Linked DNA regions of Homo sapiens: region 1 is linked to region 2. The links are contacts of gene promoters, found by promoter capture Hi-C in blood cells and fetal thymus (Javierre and others, 2016). All regions are on one chromosome and are shown on one strand. Each heading gives the region's core, a stretch centred on a gene start or on the middle of the fragment in contact. The rest is flanking DNA. Distances are from core to core; before and after follow the strand shown. Region 1 overlaps TTC14-DT (TTC14 divergent transcript). Region 2 holds the start of PEX5L (peroxisomal biogenesis factor 5 like).

What was found. The method cuts DNA at HindIII sites, captures the fragments that hold promoters and counts their contacts. A CHiCAGO score of 5 or more calls a contact.
Region 1: a contact is called between a fragment that was not itself captured here and the fragment with the promoter of PEX5L in region 2, in 1 of 17 cell types (endothelial precursors). The highest score is 5.7, in endothelial precursors.

What each region holds. Positions count from the first base shown.
Region 1 is chr3:180,567,239-180,574,328 of GRCh38, forward strand. All of the region lies in intron 2 of TTC14-DT (TTC14 divergent transcript), which reads right to left. Among named protein-coding and RNA genes, the nearest start is that of TTC14-DT, 31 kb to the right of the region's middle. The HindIII fragment of the contact is 2,184 bases long and covers 1,911-4,094 here.
Region 2 is chr3:180,031,923-180,039,245 of GRCh38, forward strand. PEX5L (peroxisomal biogenesis factor 5 like) reads right to left here and starts at 5,015. Exons shown (of 15, transcript NM_016559.3): 1 at 4,657-5,015. The coding sequence starts at 4,677. RefSeq lists a silencer at 5,081-5,130. The HindIII fragment of the contact is 2,978 bases long and covers 4,277-7,254 here.

The DNA of each region.
Region 1 (7,090 bases), core at 1,753-4,252, 530 kb after region 2:
AAATTCCTGAATAAATGAAGCCTCCAGAGCTCCATATAGACTGTACTCCAATTATTAGCAATAATAAGGTCTAAGATATAAGCATGGCTTATGGACAGAAAAGTCTGTGTGATAACAGCTAACTTAAAGAACAATAACCGGCCGGGCGCGGTGGCTCACGCCTGTAATCCCAGCACTTTGGGAGGCCGAGACGGGCGGATCACGAGGTCAGGAGATCGAGACCATCCTGGCTAACACGGTGAAACCCCGTCTCTACTAAAAATACAAAAATTAGCCAGGCATGGTGGCGCGCGCCTGTAGTCCCAGCTACACGGGAGGCTGAGGCAGGAGAATGGCATGAACCCGGGAGGCGGAGCTTGCAGTGAGTCGAGATCGCGCCACTGCACTCCAGCCTGGGCGACAGAGCGAAACTCCGTCTCAAAAAAAAAAAAAAAAAAAAGAACAATAACCATATGCCACATTGTTGAAGAGCTATATGTAAACTCATACAATAACTGCCACCCAAACTAAATGAGGTAAGCACCATTGTTTTCATCCCCACTTTCCAGATGAGTATACTGAGTCACAGACAGGTTAGTAACTTGTTAATGTTACACATATAGTAAATAGCAGAGCTAGGATTTGAACCCAGTCTCACTCCAGAGCCATGCCCCTCTGGTGATGGGTAACCTGACAGATTTAGGTAGCTGGTCATGGCAGAGATTAAGAGACCCTGATGGTCTTTTGAGGTAAAGTGGATAATAAGTTCTGACAACAGCATCTTTCCTAAGGCTGGTTTCTCAGTTTATAGTAGTAAGTTGCCAATATTCACCCAGGTGCTTAAGCTAAAAATCAAAGAATCATTATTGATGTTTGCCTTTCTTTCACCCCATAGCCCATTAGCAGGTCTTATTAGGTTTGCCATCAAAATAAATCCAGAATCCAACCATTTCTCACCACTCTACTACTACCACTTAGTGCATGTCCATCTTCATCATCACCAGGAATATTGCAATTGCCTCCCTATTGGCTTTCCTGCTTTTCTACTTACCCTTCTATAGTCTCATCTCCTTATAGCATATGAGTAATCATTTTTAAAACATGGGGTAGATCACATCACCCCTCCCCCTACTCAAAATCTTCAGTGACTTCCCATCAAATTTTGAATAAAATACTACATGATCTAGCCTGACTACCTCTCTCATCTCATCCTTACCCACTCTCCCTAACTTACTCCACTAGCTTTCTGGCTGTTCTTCAAATATGTGAACTCACCCCCACCTCAGGTCCCGTGAACTGGCATTTCTATTTGCCTAGAATGTTCTTCCCAAGGACATTTATACATTTGACACCTTCACATCATTCAGACCCCTGACTAAATGTCTCTTCCACAAAGAGCAATTCCTGACTACCCTCTCTAAAACAACTCAGCCCTTCAGTCACAATCCCCACACCTCAGACTTCATTTCTCTTCATAGCATTTGCAGTTACCTGAAATTACATTCAAAATGTATTTGATAATAACCTTGAGGATACAGGCCTAGGGTACCTTTTTAACTGCTTTACCTTCAGTGCTTGGACAGTGGCAGCTATAATAGTAAATGCTCAATTAACCAAGTGAATTAATTCCTCCGAGCTCCATCATTTTTTGATACCATGATATTCACAGGACCTGACCCTGTCAGATTCTGAATAGACTTCACCACTCATCTATCTTAGGGCAGACTACTTGGAATTGGTGGCCCATAACAGCACCTTTCTTAAGGAGGTAAATGCTCCACCTGCAGTAGCACTCCTCTCTCGTTTTCTCTTTTCCTGGTATGGCGTGAGGAGGCTTTGCTGTTTTCTCTTTCCTTTGAGGTAGACACATTTTTTCATTTCTCATTATTCAGTTTGTTTTTGTCATGGAATATATTTTGCTATCTAAATAAAGCTTCCTGAAGTCTTTGAACTTCTGTGGTGATGTTCTGTATTCTTTCCTACCAAAATATAACTGCTATATATCTGTTAGATGAGAGTTAACTCATTAGCATTAAACACTAAGATAATTACTGCATTAAAATCTCCTGCCATGTGGAGATGTAGAAATGAAAGCTGCCCCCTGCTTCCTCTGCTCATCACAACCTCTGGAAACTTTTCTAGGCTTCCCTGAGAATTTTTGTTAAGTAACAAACACAACCTGTGCAGCAGTCTTTTATTCTCTATTCATCATTAAAAGTGAGAAGTTGCTGGCTAGGACTGAAGTTTGTTAGCTCAGATGGAAACTTTGGAATAATTACTGATATCGTGTATTGTTAAAACCTGTGCTAAATTAGGTGGCGTGCATACATAATGTATGGAAAGGTAAGGCTGCTGCTTCCACAAACCCGACTTCTTCATAAAGAAAAATCAAATAGATTAAACACAGCTAACAGAGAGAAGTTGAAAAAGAAGCCCTTATTTCCAGTGATCATTCAGGAAAGGGCCTTAGAAGATTCCGTTCACATGCTAAAAGCATCCATTCCTCACTTAGACATCTACAGAAATAAGGAAAATTTAGTGAGTTAAAGGACAATATACTGGATGTAACCCATTTTTCTTTTTATTAAATATCCCACTGCAACATCTAGGATTTGACATCCATATGTACAGGCAATAATAAAACTAAAATTTTCTACACTGGCTGATATCTCAGTTCAACCACAACAGTTAGCTCTCAATTTCCAAAACAGTATGAAAAGCAATAGTCTTTTTATTTGCTAACCAGAACTGTGAATTTAATCCTCTAGAAATAGATTTGAAGTTGTGCTCTCTTGCTTACCTTCTACTGTGATTAGATCTATATATTTTAAACTGTATTTGGAGGATAGAGTAAAATTTCTGTGACTCTGTCATTAAAATAAGTAACACAAAGGTAAAATATGATCACAATGAGCCAAGGAATTAAAGTGAGATACATAGTAATTCATGCAAAGGGCAAGATAGTTTCTCTGCTGTTAGCTTCAAAGGTTGTAGGTAATAAATTAAAAACTATAAGCAAATTTAAAGAATTAAAAGAAAAGCAAATAACTCTTGAGACTGATTTAGGTAGGTAATTTATCACTTCTTTATATCTCTCCCAGGAGATTAACTAGAGAAACTGTGGATATTGTATCAATGAGTGACATTCAAAATATTTTACAACGAACATGGCACCAGCACCAATCTAATACAGCAGACTCCAGCCCGAATGAGGAAGTAGGTCCCCGAGTGCCTCTTTTGCAGCAGGCATCAACCATTTAGTTGCTGATTATGGGGGGCTCTGGTGGGTTCTGGGAAAGGGTCTAGGGCAGCCAAGGCAGAGGGAAGACTAGGGAGGACCCACTCAGAGATTTTGCTGCAGAAACTCTTTACCAACGTAATGAAAGATTTTCAGTATTTTTAACACTTGGAAGAACCATACAGTGCATTACCCCTGGTGCCGTCATGAGCTTTGAGGAACTGAGGAAGGAGGAAAGGAAGAGAAAGGAGGAGCAATGAACATATCGTTTCCTCTAGAATAATTTACCTTTCACTTCTCTTCCCTTAGTGAGATCCTACTCATCTTATGGATCTCAATTCACATGTCATATATGAAGTCAAATTCCTCACTACCAACAGAAACCTCTGCCCTACTTCTCATTCCCCTCTCTCTGTAAGTATACATGTATGTGTGTGGTCATTTGCTTACTCTCTCTTTTTCACACTAGACTCTAAGGCCCTGAGCACAGGGACCTTCTCTTTTTGCTCAACATTTTCTTCCTAGCAACTAGAAAAATATTCGATGCCAGCACTTTGGGAGGTTGAGGTGGGCGGATCACGAGGACAGGAGTTCAAGACCAGCCTGACCAACATAGTGAAACCCCGTCTCTATTAAAAATACAAAAAGAAATTAGCTGGGTGTGGTGGCATGCACCTGTAATCCCAGCTATTCAGGAGGCTGAGGCAGGAGAATCACTTGAACCCAGGAGGCAGAGGTTGCAGCGAGCCAAGATCATGCCACTGCACTCCAGCCTGGGTGACAGAGCAAGACTCCGTCTCAAAAAAAAAAAGAAAGAAAGAAAGAAAAAAAAATATGTGATGCACAACAAGAATTCTTAATAAACGAATGAATGGAAAGCTTAGTTTGGTTTTTTAAATTTACATGCTACATAAGGCAAAATAAAAGATCAATTAAACTGACTTCGTTATTATTAGTCCACTCACAGTAAGGGAGAAAGTTCTGCAAGTAAAAAAAAGATAATAATAAAAATATCTAGCATTTATTGAGTTTTCCTATAGGTTAATCACTGTGCTAAGTGTTTCAAATACTGTCTGTCAAACAGCAGAGGCTGAACTCTTAATCTCTACCTATTTTTCTTCTCATGTTTAATCCATTTTATGTGGGTAAGCTGGCAGATATTTTGTGCTTCTGTACAGGATTGGATTAGGTATGCATAAGAACCAAAGTAATGCATTATAAGAAAAGAGATAACTTAAGAAAAACTGCGTCAGACTTTTTCAGGTTATCTATTCCATGAGCAGATGGTATACTTCTGAGGAAATATCAGGATATATTAAAGAAAACGTTTAGGCAACTGATGTTTATGTGGGTGCCGATTTCTGGCTACAGCAGATGCCTGTTGCTTCCTGACATCTGCCATATTCCACTCTAAGTACCAAAAAAACATACAGCTGACAAAGTTGCATAGATAATGGCTTTGCATATCAATAAGTTGTGCTAGCTAGTCCTACAAGGCATTATCTAACCAGGAACTCAAAAGCTGAAGTTGATCTCTCAGATACCGTATAACAATAGAAAGAACACAGACATTGGAATTAAACAAGCCTGAGCTCACTATCTTGGGCCTCCCATTTACATGCTAGGTAATTTTGAAAAATATTTTTAACCTCACAGAACTTAAGTTTCTTTATTGGTAAAATAATTTAGTAATGTTTAACCTGCTGGTTGCCACAAGATTCAAATACACATAAGTGCCTGAAAAATCCTAGGCACTTAATAAATGCTAGCTAAATGTCTAAACTACACCAAAATTTGATCTTGTAGAAATGTGTGTTGATGGTCTGATGAAACAGAATAAAATAAATGTTAAATCTGGAGGTTTTGAGTGTAGGACTGGGCCTATGAGCGGCACAGGCTTGAAACCGAAAGAGGAATAGAAAGAGCTGGCATCTATTCTTGGGTCGAGATATCCACAGACATAAAGGCAATCTCACTTTGCAGCACTCCCTTGGAAAACGGCTCAGAGGAGATGAACAGTAGAGAGAGAAGTGGGGCTGCCAAGAGAAAAGCTGAAAAGGGAATCGTAGAGGATGGGCTCTGAGGCTAGTTTGACTACTGCTTCTTCTGTGGTATAAAACTTCAAGTGACAAATTGTAGTGTTATAATTAAGGCTCACAGGAGAAAGCGGATTAACTGAGACAATGGCCCATTGCGTGGTAAAACCAAAGGAATTCTCTAAGAGGCCTCTAGTCAGAAAGGATGGAAGCTCCCCTTAGAGGTCAACCCTCAGAGAAAGTATGGGAGCTCAAGTAGATTTCCTCCCCACACCAAACCCCCAGGCTCATATGGCCGGTAACCAGAGGTCTGGGAGCATCTACAGGAAGGCAGCAAGTCCCTACTTCTGCTAGATGGACAAAGTCTGAGGTTACACCTCCTGAAGCCAGGAGGAAAGTTCATTTTCTTCTTGTCTTCTAATTGCCCAGGAAAAAACTCTAAGGAAATTCAGATCACTGAGTTAACGCCTCTGCTAAAATCTCTGCTTGGTTCAGAACCATATTGTTTGCTGCAACTGATTAATTGTATATGCAGTTAAGTTTTCCCTTTTAGGAATTAGCATACCATGTCTAAAAAAAAACCCTTAATTAATTGTGCCCCACACCAATTGATTATTATTGGGTTCACCGTCTTCATCCATCCCAATCATTAGACACTTATAAATAAGAGTTTTGCTTAATACTATGGGGATCATATGTCTAAGATCTGTTAAGAAAATGTGACGGTTAATTTTATCTGTTAACTTGCTTAGGCCATGGTACCCAGATTTGGTGAAACACCACTCTAGATGTTGCTGCGAAGGTATTTTTTTAGACAAGATTAACATTTAAATGAGTCAAGCAGATTACCCTCCATAATGTGAGTGTACCTCATCCAATCATTTAAAGGCCTCAAGAGGAAAAGAAGACTCATATCTCACAAGGAAGAGGGAACTCGGCCTCCCTATTGCCTTTGGAGTTGAGTTGAAACATCACCTCTTCCCTGGGTGTCTCCATCTTGCCAATCTGCCCTGCAGACTTTGGACTTGCCAGCCCCCACAATCATGTGAGCCAATTCCTTAAAATAAACCTCTCTCTATACACACACACACACACACACACACACACACACACACACACACACACACACCCTATTGGTTCTGTTTCTCTGGAAAACTCTAATACAGAAAGCTTTTAAAGTTGGGGACTGGTAGTGTTGCAAAAAGGGAGTCTTTTAAAGTGTTATAATCCAGGCCAGGGGTCAGTCAACTTTTTCTGTAAAGGGCCAGATAGTAAATATTTAAGGCTCTGCACATCATAAGATCTTTGTAGCAACTACAAAGCTCTGCTATTGTAGCACAAATGGGTATGGCTGGGTTACAATAAACTTTTACTTATGGACACTGAAATTTGAATTTCATATAAGTTTCACATGTCACAAAAAAGCTTTCTTTTTATTTATTTTTTGAAGTTTTAAAACGTAAGAATTATTCTTATCTCACAAGCCATAAAATAACAGTCCACGGGCCACAACTTGCTCTCCCTGGTCTAAGGTGACAACTCTTAAACTATAATCTTTGGCTTCCTGAGAGCTGCAAGGTTCCCTGTGGTAGGATCTGATTCAAAATTGTGAGTTCTTTCTTTGGTGGTGAAGGATTGAATAAATGAGACAAGTGCTATATACTTATTTTTATGTACTATAAACTACTTATTAGTAATCTAATAATGCTTAATAAAACTAAATGGTTTATTAAGCATTACTTAAATTTGGCTATAAAAACTAAAACCAACTTAATGCTAGAATTTTTCTCCACCTCTGAACCTGTTTAGCTTTAACAATACAAAGATTACATGTTAT
Region 2 (7,323 bases), core at 3,765-6,264:
ACTTTCAAACACATGTTTTTAGGAGGAATATTTATAAACCACAAATAAAATCTACAAAGACTATATTGTGTTTCTTATAGTAAGTATATAAACTATTGGCCAGTATGGCTGGGGAATGAGATTTTCAGATTAATCAAGTATTCTGCTAATGCATACCACAACTATTATAACTTTCAAGTGTTAAAAGCTCAACACTACATCCATACCAAACATGATTTGCATGTGAATATACAGGAAGACACTTCAGAATCTTGCTGGAGCTTGTGTCATAATTTTGATCAACAGCTTAAATGTACATGAATTTGCTTCAACAGAGTTCTAGTTAATATTTCATCATACTTATGCTCATCATTACCTATAAGATGACATTTGAGGAAGAAGACCAGGTGCCACTTGAACTGAGATAACAAAGGGGGAGAGGAAGGCAGCAGCAACCACTGACCAAAACAACACAACAAACCCCAGCACTGCTCACTCTCCTGAAAATGCCACCCCCGTTCCAACTCTAAACTAATCTCAAAGACTCGCCTCTGAAAATGTGTGTATGTGTGTGCGTGCAGGTGGTTTATTGCTATTAGTCATATCTTTGCTAGCAGTTAATGCCTTAGCAAAGGGTTAAGAAAGAAAGAACACAGGATGGAAAAGGGTGAGCCGGGAGCTGCGGTTCATGCCTGTAATCCTAGCACTGTGGGAGGCAAAGGCGCGTGGATCGCTTCAACTCAGGAGTTCAAGACCAGCCTGGACAACATGGTGAAACCCTGTCTCTACAAAAAATACAAAAATTATCTGGGCATGGTGGCATGCACCTGTAGTCCCAGCTACTTGGGAGACTGAGGTGGGAGAATTGCTTGAGCCAGGGAGGCATAGCAAGCAGTGAGCCGAGATTGGGCCACTGCACTCTAGCCTGGGGGACAGAGAAAGACCCTGTCTCAAGAATTAAAAAAGGTGGTACCAGGAGGGAAAAAAGTGGATCTGTTAGAGAGGTGGAAGTACCCATGATAAATATCATCTGCTTTACAGTTTTGCTGAGGGCCTCAATTATGATAACCTACTGTTTAGGGTATTGAAAACAACGTTCTACAGTCTTACCTTCAATTGGTTTCTTATGTATTTTGTTTCTAGTGAACCTAAATAAATCACCAGGGGCGAGATCTAATGTACTAACATAACTTAAATTACCTAAGCTATTCCCCTTTGTAGAGATTTTAAGAAAAATCTTAAGTAAAGTCATATAGAAAAACAAATGCAAAACTCCCCTGGGGGAAAACAAATGGCTACTTTTTGGGCTGTTAATAATCTTACAATTTTTGTCATTTAAATTTTCCTTAGTTTATGTCTTGTGAAGCTAGAGGGTGTGGAATGATTCCCCAGACAGCTTGAATAAGTCAAAAAGTCTGCTTTGAATGCCTAAAATAAAGATCAGTTACAATTACAAATAGATTTTTTGTTTGATTGCCTTCTGAAATAACTTTCTTTTATTAAAAAACCCATTGCTGTGGATTCTTCAATAACAATTCAAAAAATCTTAGTAGAAAATTGAAATTATATTTCTCTGTATTTATACCACCCCAGAAATAAAACAGCTAGGTTAAGAAAACATTGAGAGACATGTAATAATTTCCTCTAACTGGAAATGTTAACTCAAATGCACATAGGCAAATAATCACCTCAGCCCTGAACATACAGAGGTATTGGTGGAATTAAGACCATAGGCCCTCAATGAGCAACAGAGTTTTGTCAGAACCGATGCTAAAGTATATTCAATCATCATCAGTGCCCTTGGTCAAAAGAAAAAAATAAGTAAATCTAAAACAGTCACAAAAGAAGCAACCTTTGCTTCATTTACTGGGGTGACTAACTCCCCTTGGAAATAATTGGTAAGGCAGCTGGATAAAAACATAGCTCCAGGACCCTGCTCCTAAGAAATATACCTGCGGCTTTTACTATGAAACCAAGAAATATCTGTTACTCTATGCTCTATCTGTAATAGATGCCAACTTTTATTTTCTAATGAACTAGCAGAGCAAACCAAATGTGTGTTTTTAAAAGTCTGCGGTTTCTAAAATGAATTCAGATTCTACCATAAACCAGATGAATTAGCCATATGTATGAGAATTAATAGACTTTATCTGCAAAATCATTAAGTTGCAAAAACAAAGGCACCACAGGAGTTTTAAATTAGACTATTTTTAAGTCTTCCTGAGAACACCTGCCCCTACTTCAAACTGCTAATTTACAAAGCACTTTATTTTAAAGTCTCTTGGATACAGAAAAGAGAAGAATTAGAATGCATAGCAAAAGATTGCAAACATTTCTGTTTCACTCTTGTTTTAAGGTATCAGTCAAGTAACATTATGTTTCAAATTAACTCCAAAGCTGGCAGAAATGTTAGTAAATCTGCTTATCCCTGGTCCACTTTACCAAATATGGATTCAGATTTTAATCATACACATTTTGGAGTGTTTGGAATGTGTTTCTTCTTATCTGTGATTAGAGTCAGGTACACACAGGAAGATGATAGTATCTCTGATAAGGAAACGTTATTTTGTCCATAGGCTAAATAATATTCTTTGGGGGAAGAGATATGAGTTTAAAATGTAAGCCAACAAGTATATTATGAATCAATCTGTCATAGGTATTTTTTTGTTGGGGGGAGCAGATGCCCATTCAGATCATCATACTATTGAATAACTACTAAACGTACCTACTAAGGCCTCGGAAGTTTTATGCTTAACATTAATGGTTAATAGTAAGTAGGAAAAAAGTATTATGCTCTGAAATTTTGGTGGATGTATTGATTACAGTCTTTATTTAGTAATGTTTTAATTTAAGCTTGGCAGCAAAGATTTGTGAGTTTTACTGCAAGTCATCATATTTGCTGTTACAGCAGTGCACAAGCAAAAGACATTAAGTTGGGAGAATATGCAGAGTCTTATATTTTGTTTATTCTTTCAAAGTGAAATTAAACCCTCAGACATTGTTCCAGGCAACTCAAGTTTCAATAACATTCTCCTTTGAGATATTGAGAAAATTGAGTTAAAATTGTTTTTGGGTGCATGAATTTACCATATTGTTGCTTCGATTCTTCATTCACAGTAACATATTTTTTAAGCAACAAAACAATACTGTGCAAAGTTTTTGTTAATTTCCCCTTAGTGGTCAATTGTCAATTTTGTGTAAATGAACAATTTTTTGAGGGTTGACTCTATTAAAATCTTCCTGTTTTACCCTTGTGAAGAAACTGTTTAAAAAACAGATAATATATAAAATTGTAAGTATCATTCTTGGGTGAAGATGAAGCATAAAACTATAGTAATAATTCTTTGTTAATTTTTTCAGCAGTCATTATTTGAATTCTTCTATGTTACTTAACTTTTCAATTGGTGTAGCTTTTATAAGAAACATGCAGATCACATTGATCATATATAATATTTAAAAATATACTTCATTCACTACTTTTTGTCTATCAAATGTGATATAATCACATTAATAATTTTCAAAACAGGATGATGTTAGTCATACGGGAAATCTTTTGGAATTCTGGCACTGTATATTGAGAATTCTTATAAAAATTGAGACTATGATGAAATATTGTGTTTTATTTAAAAATGGATTATAGTCCAAAAGAATTTCCCTAAGTTATGGAAATTAAATCTGGGTAGTACTAAGTCATAAATATAACAACATATTTATCTATTTCCAATTGCTCTAAAAGACACAGAAGCAAAATCCTCAGTATTCATAAATGTTATACACCAGGATAAAGGCATCACACATAATGATTGTATTTGACCATCTTTGGAATGGAAAGGAAGCCCAAACATCAAACCTGATGACTAAACCATTTAGGTGCGATAAAGAGTCCAGTTCATACTTTAGAAAGCTGAGTTAGTATTTTATTTTTCTCCCAAAGCATATATCTGCCTTTATAAGAACCAACCAACCGTATGAATGAGAACTGGAGTCAAGGTTAAAGTAATCTTGCCCAAGAGAGTAGAGTGTGTTTGCATCGGAAAGAAGCAGCGGCTCAGCTCAGATGAATATTAATAACAACCGGAGGCAGCACCTCCCCTGAAAAACATTAGAGCTCCTTGGACATGTGTTTGAAATTCATCCTCCCAAGTCATCCTGTGACTATTGGAGTAGATGGCAATGTCCCATAATGTGAAGGGGGAAAATACACTATAAATCGTTTTTTAAATATAACACTTTAAAAAATGAAACGAAAGTGACAGAGTGTTCTAAGTCAAGCAACCTTTTCAGATGGTAAAGGAAAAGCTTTGTCTTTCCTATTATTGTTTGCCCTTCAGTTGACATACATGCTGAGATGCATCAATAGGATTACAACGGAAACACGGTCATCTCTAGGGTTTCCTCTGTTTCGATTCCTTGATCCTGTTTAAAGAAACAGGCTCAGGGAATGCACAGAAAACAAACTTCCCCAATCGAAGTTCTGAGGTCTTCCCTCCCCTTCTCCCACCTTCGGAAACCGGTCTAGTTTTCCCGGCAGCACCGGACAGAAATGTCACGGTCATGTTGCATCACTTCACTTGTTGAGCTGTGCGAAGGCAGCACTTGACCACAGAAACTTGGTGAACCGCCTTGCTCTTAAATTAGCCCCCAAGAATTCTCTCCAGCCCTATAGAAATGTCTTACCTGCATGTGTCCCTGGTACATTCTGCTTCGGTTTCTTCAGGGCTCCCTGAGGCCACCGGATGCTTTTCCCCCGTGCTTACTTGCCCACCAAAAGAGGGGAAAAGGTGGGTGCACAGCGGGTTCTCAGAGGGTGCTCCTGAGCCCCCTGGAGCTCCGGGTACTCGGCCGGCCGGCGGCCACTCGGCAGCGCTGCGGGCTGCCGGGAACTGTTCTCCGCTCGGGGTGCTGAAAGCGGACGCGGGAGAGCGCGCAGAGAAGGCGAGGAGCCGGGTCGGCCAGGCTCTCCTGCAGGCGCGGGTCCTGCTCGCGGGGCGTCTCTAGAACTCACTCCTTCTTCGCCGAACTCTTTCTCGCTTCCTGCCAGGTTGCCTCATGTCTCTCTCTCTCTGAGCTGCGAACCCCCTCCTCCCAGCCCTGACGTGAGCGCCTACACCAGCCGCCGCCGCAGCTGCCGAGCGGGGCGCGCGCCGTTCTCCCAGCCGCGTGCCTGCCGAGAGGCCGCGGGACCGGGCACGCGCGCGCGTTCCCAGGGGCCTGGGAGCGGCCCGAGGGCGGCCCCGGGCGGTGCGCGCTCCCCGAGCGCGTCCTCGGGGCTGCGCGCGCGCGGCGGCAAGGCGAGGTGCCGGCAGGCGGTGGTCGCGCTGGTGTACAACGCCCGCAGCAGCGCGGCGTTCAGGTGCGGCGTCGGCGGGCAGGGCGATTCTAGCGGAGAGGATGGCCGGCCGGAAGAAAGGCGGGAAGACATGCATCGTCTCTCCGGGGGCCATCCACCGCGGCTGAGCCTGTTATCCTACAGACATTATAGGCTGAGTGCAGGGGTTGCCGAAGAGTTTACTTCGGTTCTGATTCAGCTCTCGAAAGTTACGTCCGTATCACCCGTTAAATAAAGACTCCCCGCTCCCCTCATCCCCAGTTCATCGCCGAGCATTCTATTTAAAACGGCAAACCCTAGTCCCTGAGGATCTGGCATGTTTTATTTTTTTCCCTAGCACGTAACATCACCTAACATCCTTTATATTTTCCATATTTATTTTATGTACTGTCTGTCTCTCCCTCTGTACAATGTTATTTCCATGAGATCAGGGACTTTTTTTTAGGGGGGTGGAGTGTTGCACTTGGTTTTGCACGTGTGTGCACAGTAAGGTATTTAGTACTTCCTGACACATGGCAGGCACACAATAAATATTTGCTGAATGAATAGACCTTTACTACTATACACTTACACACACATACACACATATATGAAGAGTGCATTTAAATATGTCTCAAGTTGAGACTGGGTAGTTTGATGTGTCTACACAATAAATGTTCATATATACACACACACCACGGGGTGGTGTATACTGTGATTACCTAATTTTGTTGGTAAAAACATCTCCAATTCTACAGGCCCCTCATATTATGTACAGCATGATATCCCCAAAATATTGCATATAGCATAATATGCTTTTTATAAAGTTTAAAAAATCCCTAGAAATGTCAATGTGTATTCATATATTCATATACAACAATATAAAAAGGAAAGCAGTGGAACAATGAATATAGTGTTCAGAGTGTTGGTGACCCTGGGTGAAGGGAGGCAGGGAAATAGATGGGGAAGCATTTCACTTGAAGTTTAGATGTTAATGTCTTATCTTCTATGCCGGGTAGTGATTCATAGGACACCTAATATCCTATTAAAAATTACTGTGTAACTAAATAAAATAGAACCATGTATGGACTAATGAGGAGAATGTGAAATGAACAAAAGGATGTGAAATGAACCAATTCAATGCATCTGAGGTCCTAAAACAACCAACCAAACAAACACAAAAGGACTAAGACCTGTAAGCAGGAGACATGGATTCCTATTAGATTCCACTAGTAGTTACCCTTGGACAATTTCCTTTTACTACTTTGGACATCAGTTTTTTCATGTCTAAACTCTGTATAAAAAACTTATTTTTTTTACCCTGAAAATAGAGATATGTTCATAAGCACTGTAAACTGTAAAATGTCATCCAGTTCTTATTTTATTGTTCTTTATAGGACAAAGCACAGGACTTGGAGTCAGCAACAAGAGGTGCTAGTTCCATCTCACTACCTCAATGCTCTCTTGGGCAAGTGTACCAACTCTCTATTTCCTCAATTTTGAAATAAGACAAATATCTACCTAGTGTGCTGCACAGAGCTGCTGAGGACTGAATGTATGCAAAGGAAGTTGTAAATTACCAACCATGATATATGAATATGCAAACAGACTTTTTTTTCCCAGTTCAGAAAAGATGAGGACTGATTTTCTGAGACCTCAAGTACTGCAGATTTTAAAATGGTACTAATTATCATATAATACTATCATGTTATATAAAAACTGGGAAAAGTATAGTGCTTTGATTTAAAAGTACTAGAAATCTGTGAAGTAACAATAGGGTCAAAGTTTTCCAATCCATTATATGCTTGTTATTATCTAACGGCAGGTTCAAGGAGCCAACAACCATAAAAGCATTTGGATCAGAATGGCAACTGCCTAGTGTTGAAGCTAGAACTCAATATATTCTCTTCTTAAACCTGAGTCACTGATTTCGTTACTGCCTACATTCTCAAAATCTCAGGAGTGAAAGCTTTCCTTTGTGAAGAATTCCTCTTCACACTTATTCCTTCTGTTAGAAGATAAACTAAGGCACATTA